Regions from separate parts of the Homo sapiens genome. Here region 1 is linked to region 2. Evidence: promoter capture Hi-C in 16 types of primary human blood cells and fetal thymus (Javierre and others, 2016). All regions are on one chromosome and are shown on one strand. The core of a region is centred on a gene start or on the middle of the fragment in contact, and the rest is flanking DNA. Distances in the headings are between cores, read along the strand shown. Region 1 holds the start of FABP6 (fatty acid binding protein 6). Region 2 holds the start of C1QTNF2 (C1q and TNF related 2).

Evidence for each region. The method cuts DNA at HindIII sites, captures the fragments that hold promoters and counts their contacts. A CHiCAGO score of 5 or more calls a contact.
Region 1: a contact is called between a fragment that was not itself captured here and the fragment with the promoter of C1QTNF2 in region 2, in 1 of 17 cell types (neutrophils). The highest score is 11.7, in neutrophils.

What each region holds. Positions count from the first base shown.
Region 1 is chr5:160,228,503-160,231,972 of GRCh38, forward strand. It overlaps FABP6 (fatty acid binding protein 6), which reads left to right and starts at 1,004. Exons shown (of 4, transcript NM_001445.3): 1 at 1,004-1,122. The coding sequence starts at 1,056. The HindIII fragment of the contact is 3,160 bases long and covers 104-3,263 here.
Region 2 is chr5:160,368,658-160,372,036 of GRCh38, forward strand. It overlaps C1QTNF2 (C1q and TNF related 2), which reads right to left and starts at 1,969. Exons shown (of 3, transcript NM_031908.6): 1 at 1,855-1,969. The HindIII fragment of the contact is 8,188 bases long and covers 1-3,309 here.

The DNA.
Region 1 (3,470 bases), core at 434-2,933, 140 kb before region 2:
GTGATCACGGAGGAGATAGAGTCCCTGCATGTGAAGTGGTACTGAGAGACACAGCAGGAAATGGAAGTCAAGATTCTGAACCCCTAACCCCTTCCAGCTCTGAAGCTTGAACAAAATAAAACTCATCCAGCATCCAGCCCAGTGCCTGGTGCACAGGCATCTTCAAGGCACCTGGCACCTTCTCCTCCAGGTGCGCTGCCTAGGCCCATGGGTGGCTGCTTTACTCTGGTTGCATTATCTGCACCCTTAGGAGCATCTGTTCTCCTTCAAGTTTGCTTTGCTCCAGCTAAACTCATTGTTTCCTTTCATCATGGCCCTTTCCATCTTCGTCACACTGTTCCCTCGTCCTAGAATATCGTCTCCCTTTGTTCTCAGCCTCCTCCAACCTTCCTGCTTCTCTACACATCCAAGTCCTATTGGTCCTCCAAGACGGGTGCCAAATGCCACCTCCTCCCCAAACATGCACTAGCCCTGCGCTGGACACCATTGCTCCTTCCCCATGCTCCAGGTCAGCCATCTGCTTTTCTCCTGGGGCACATCACATCCTGCTTACACAAGAACTCTCTGCAGGTGTGTGCTTGTCTCTGGACTAAACCAAAGGCTCTTTTGGGAAAGGTGTGTGTCTCGTTCATCTGTGTTTCTTCAGTGCTGGCCCTGCATGCAGCAAGTGCTCAAGTGCTTTGGCTGCAGAGTTAGAGGGTGCAAGAGTGATGAGAGATGGTGAGAGCATGGGTTGAGGGCAGGGCATGCGGGAACGGAGGGAGAGATGGGCAGAGAGGTGATGACTCCTCAAACCCGTTGCCATCCTGACCCTGCTGGCAATGGGGTGACAGCACTTCCCCAGGGTGAATAACCTCGGGGCTCTGTCCCTCCAGGTCCTGCCCACATCATAAAACAGCAAGTGCTTCCTCTTCAGGACAGGAGGGAGAAGAAGTGGGGTGACTTAGGGGCTGAGCCTCAGCAACTGGGAGAGTTTATAAGCTGGGATAGCAGACCCCTCAGCACCACCCATTCTCCTCATCCCTCTGCTCTCTGGCCTCCAGCCTCCCAGCAGCATGGCTTTCACCGGCAAGTTCGAGATGGAGAGTGAGAAGAATTATGATGAGTTCATGAAGCTCCTTGGTGAGTGAGCTCCTGGGTATCCCTTCCTCGGGGTTGGTTTGTCACAGCCAGCTCTGGGCCAGGAACCCTAAAGTAGAATGGGACAGGATTTCATCCATTCATTCACTCACTCACTCATTCATTCATTCACACATTTGTTGAGCAACTGCTTTCTCCCAGGCTCTGAGGATAATAAGAACTAAGACACTCTTTAACTTTTTTATTTTATTTTATTTTATTTTATTTTATTTTATTTTATTTTATTTTATTTTATTTTATTTTATTTTTGAGACAGAGTCTCACTCTGTCTCCCAGGCTGGAGTGCAGTGGCACCATCTCGGCTCACTGCAACCTTCGGCTCCCACGTTCAAGTAATTCTCCTGCCTCAGCCTCCCGAGTAGCTGGGATTACAGGTGTGCACCACCACGCCCGGCTAATTTTTTTTTTTTGTATTTTTTTAGTAAAGATGGGGTTTTACCATGTTGGCCAGGCTGGTCTTGAACTCCTGACCTCAGGTGATCCACCCAGCTCGACCTCCCAAAGTGCTGGAATTACAGGCGTGAGCTGCCGCACCCAGCATAGACACTCTTTGACTTTAAAACACACATAGAATATATTAGTATTTCCACTTTACTGATGGAAAACTTGAGGCCCAGGGAATTAACTAGTCCAAAGTCACACAGCTAGTAATTGGTAAAGTGGAGACTTGGTTGGTGAAGTAGAGATTTGATGTTTATTTAGTCAAACATGTATTTATTTTTATTCATTTATTTTTGAGACGGAGTCTTGCTCTGTCTCCCAGGCTGAAGTGTAGTGGCATGATCTCAGCTCACTGCAACCTCCGTCTCCTGGGTTCCAGCAATTCTCCTACCTCAGCCTCTCAAGTAGCTGGAACTACAGGCATGTGCCACCACATCTGGCTAATTTTTTGTATTTTCAGTAGAGACGGGGTATCACCCTGTTGCTCAGGCTGGTCTTGAACTCCTAACCTCAGGTGATCCACCCACCTCGGCCTCCCAAAATGCTGGGATTACAGACGTGAGCCACCGAGCCCAGCCCATCAAACATTTATTGAACACCAGCTATATGCAAGGCTATCTCAGTGTTACCAATGGGGACTCAGCGTGACTTGCCCAAGTCAGTGGCAGAGGCCATTGGCACCCAGGACCCTGTGATGAGTGGTGTCACCACATCCTGCCTGGGAGAGGAAACCAAAGGGTTAGCATGGAGACCAGGTTTGACAAGTCACTTCTTCACACAGTCATTCAGCAAACACAGGCCTCTTACTGTGCCAAACACTGTGGGCAGAGAGACCAGTGATTTCATTCCTTCTCTCACTGCTTGACTTGTAACACCAGTCTGTTGTGAGGAACCAATGAGACAGTGGATCTGACAATCTTGTGGAAATCTCAGTATCTCACTATCTAAAAAGTCTCAGGCAGTGTAACTCTCAAGGTTCAGAGGACAGCTCAAGGGGACCCGTGCCCTCCCTCTTGGTGGCCACTTCTTGCCTGCCAGCTGGCTCAGAGCAACCCTGAGACCAGGGCCCTTGTGCCTTGGGGCCTTGAGGAGTCGAGAGTCCCTCTGAGTCATGTATTGGCAGTGGCCCTGAAGGAGCAATGACTTGGCTTCACCTATAACAGCCTCGTGTTGTGGGATGGGAAGTGAGCCCACTTTGGTTCTAGACCTGATTCGGTCATTAAATTTCAGTGAAATACTGGGAAGTCCCTTTCCCATTCTGGGTGCTCACTTCCTTATCTGTAAAATAAAAGTATTAGAAGACACAGTCTTTCTCTGGCAGGGAGGAGGGGACGGAGTCCTGCTCTGTAGCCCAGGCGGAACTGCAGTGGCGCGATCCCAGCTCACTGCAACCTCTGCCTCCAGGGTTTAAGTGATTCTTTTGCCTCAGCCTCTCAAGTAGCCAGTATTACAGGCACCTGCCACCATGCCCAGATAATTTTTTTGTATTTTTAGTAGAGACAGGGTTTTACCATGTTAGCCAGGCTGGTCTCGAACTTCTGACCTTAAACGATCTGCCTGCCTCGGGCCCTCAAGGAGCTGGGATTACAGGCATGAACCACCATACCTGGTCTTGAAAGTCTCATTCATTCCAGAACTTCGCGAGCTTGGCAAGATTCAGTTATATTTATATTACTATCAGAAGCTTGGTTATTATTGATGAGCACCCACCATGTGCCAGGAGCTTCACAAACACACTCACATTGAATATAATTCTTGTAACAGCCTTTTGGGATGGGCCTTATTATCTCCATATTGTGGATGAATAGACTGAAGCTCAGAGAGATAGGGACTTTCCCCAGCCACATGGCTCACAGCACGTATTAGCTGTCTCAGGCACTGTGCTCTTA
Region 2 (3,379 bases), core at 719-3,218:
AGTGGGTGAAGCTGTGGGTGTGGAGAGAGACTCTGTTACCCCACAGTGAACATTTAGGAGTAGGAAGCATCAGTGATTGAGACAGCAGGAGAGACTGTCTGATCAGCAGGGTCAGCATAAGAGAAGGAATAGCGAGACAGGGGGGAGGAATAGGGAGATTTGCAGAGGAAAAAAGTGACACCTTGGAGAACTTGCTGAACATTCAATGGAGACAGAGTGGCTTCAAACGTGACTCCAGCCTTGTGAAAAATAATCTCAGTTCATCCATACAATGACACACTATGCCCATTAGAAGAACAAAGTAAGCCTGTATATGCAGATATGAAAACATGGCGAAGACACACTGTTAAGTGAAAAAAGCAAGTTGTACCATGGAATGTAAAGTATGCTTCTCTTTGAGTTTAAAAAAAAAAAAAACAGCACAAATACAGAGTATATATATGTACAGAAGGGTTGGGGAAATACTTTCCGAAAAGACACAATCTTGTTAAGGGGTTACCTTTCAGAATTGGGAGGGGGTGTGTGGGCTTTTACTTTTCTCTTTCTACCTTTTTGAACTGTTCGAATTTCTTGTGATGAGCGTCGTTACTTTTATAACATTTAAAACAAAAGGTAAACCTAAGGTTTAAGGATTGGAAGACTGGTAAGTGTGGTATCCCTGCTAGGAGATGGGGAGAAGTCAGACATTTGGGAGGAAACAAATTCTGCAGTGAATCTGATGTGTTACAATGAAGGGCTGTAGTGATGCTTGGAAATGTGTGGAGAGTTTGAGGATCGGGCAGTTGAAAGCAGGAGTAATTGATATAATTACTCCAGATGACAGAATAAATTAGAGAATGGTGCAGAGGGAGGGCAAAAATAAGGATGTGAGAGGACAGATTTTTAACAGTGCTAACTGAGCACCAGCCTTGGATTGACCTATGTAAGACATTGTCTTTCTATTACTGCTACTTCAGCATGGTGGAAACACAGGGTCTCTGAGAGATGGCCAGTCTAAGGAAGGGACCTCTGCAGGCTTCCAAGCAGGGCAATTTTGTGGTCAAGGAGCAGAGGAGGATCACAATGAGGTAATGCAAGGGACTCATGGTGTCAGAGGAGAGACCTGGGCTGGGAGACTATTAGGGCCCACTGCAATTATTTAGCTGAAAAGCGAGGTCCTAGAATGGGGCAGCAGCAGTGGGGATGGAGAAATAAGGACAAAGCATATTAAGACAAGTAGTTTAGGTGGGGAAGGAGAGTGAAGAGAGTCATGAGGCATTGAGTACAAATCTCTGCCTGCCGTTCAATACCTTTTGAGCTCAGTTTGCCAGTCTGTATCATATATTTAAATAAATGTGAAGGTTAAGTGAAATAATGCATTCAGTAAATGTTAACTGTGATTGTTAGCTCGGGTATTGGACTCAGATTTACCAGACTTCAAGTCCCTTTTTTATCAATTACTAGCTGTGCAACCCTGTCCAAGTCATTAATGTCTCTGAGCCCAGTTCCTCTTTTGTAGACGGGGATAATCTGTTGTCATGAAAATGAAAGAGCACAAGTAAAGTGCTAGCAGGACTTGGCACAAAGTAGGCGCTCAATAAATGGCAGAGCTACGGGTGTTACTATTGTAACGGGTAAACCACTGGGCACAGAGCCTGGCACACAGTAAGGACTCAAAACATGTTAATTTGTATTATAATACGAAGGTAGAAGTCGAGAGGCAGGAATGCAGGAGCTGCCCAGCCCGCAATAAAGGCGCGCTGGCAGCTCTCCCACCTTCCGCATCCCGCCCCGCCCGCAGCAGTGCGAGTCCTCCTCCTCCTCCTCCCCGCGCGCACTTGCCGCCCCCGCCCGACCGCGGTGCGGGACACTCACCCTCGCGGCTGCCCGCCACGTCCAGGGGCGTCCGGAGCAAAGAAGCTCTCGGCGGGGCTCCGCGTCCCGGCTTTCCTCAGCGGCAGCAGCCGGGCAGAGCGTCGGCCCCAGGCATAGTTTTCCCATCCCGTCATGGGCGGGAGAGCCTTCCTCCCGGTCACGTGGGCTGGCCCGCAGCGCAGCATTCTCTTTTTAGCAGCTGTTTGGAAAAAACTTGCAGTGCTGATGACAACTCGGGTGTGTCGATGCATCTCTGCGTTTGTAGAGCTTGTTAGCGTATTTGGAGGTTTTGTGCGCCAGAGTGATCAGAGTGATTGTTTCCCACGCGTTTGCAAAGGTGTGCATGTACTTGAGTGTGATGATAAATCATAGGGATGTGTTTAGTTGTGTGTGTGCGTACGTGCGTTTATCCAAATTTTCATCAGGGCTGTTCGGTGTATGTACACATGCATGCACATGTCCAAGATGGCAGCTTGGTGTAAAACTGGAGGGCACATCAGTGGTTGGATGTACACGATAGTGGCTAGACATCTGTATGTGGGGTGCATGTTTAAATGTGTGTGTGACTGTGCAGGGGCTCATTCTGTGTGTTGGTTTGACATCTGTATGTGGGGTGTATGTTTAAATGTGTGTATGACTGTGCAGTGGCTCATTCTATGTGTTGATTTCTATGCATGCCTTGGTGTGGATTTTGTCCGGATGTGAGTGTGCACATACACACTAGTGTGGGTGAGTTCCCCTGTGTACCAGCTCTCATTTCTCTTCTCCCCAGAAGGTGAGGATTCACTGGTCTCACTCACTCTGGCCCAGCCTCAAGTCATTGAGAGACTTATGGAGGGTCTCAGCTCCCAGGATAGGCAAAGCAATCCTATTTGGGAATCAAGCAGGCACTGGAGGAAAGGAAATCCTCCAAGGCCTGGCTTTTGCTTCTCCCTGTTCCTTCCACTGCTCTCTTCCACTAGCTACCCATATTTCACTCTGCACAGCCAGAGCATCTGGTTAACAGCTGGTAAGTGACACAAAATTTACAGTCAGAATTTTAATACAGATATGCATTTGAATTCTAATGTTGTATCCACCACCTTAATCAAGTCAGATAATCTCACAGATGGTGTTTTATTTTCTAAAAAAAATGGGAGAATAATATTACCTGCACTGCCTTTACCCCAAAGTTGGGACACTAACTCATAAAGATGTTTGGTAAGCCATTGAACTATGTAGGGAATTATTACTAATATCACATAAATACTATTTGAGAAAGAAAGTTTGTAGGCTTAACAAACATTCATTCAACAAATATTTAATAAGCATCCATTGTGTGTCAGTCCCCAAGCAAGGTGCTGGGGACATAGAGGGAAACAAATAGGCTTGATGCCTACCCTCATGAAACTTAGAGTCCTCCAGCTGGGGATGACACAAGTGGTTACAAGTGAAATGAGTGTTATAGAAAAGAAAAGCTTAAAGTATAAACTGGGCAGTCAGGGGAAGGCCTGGGAAACTGATGTTTCAGGTGAACCCTGAGAGA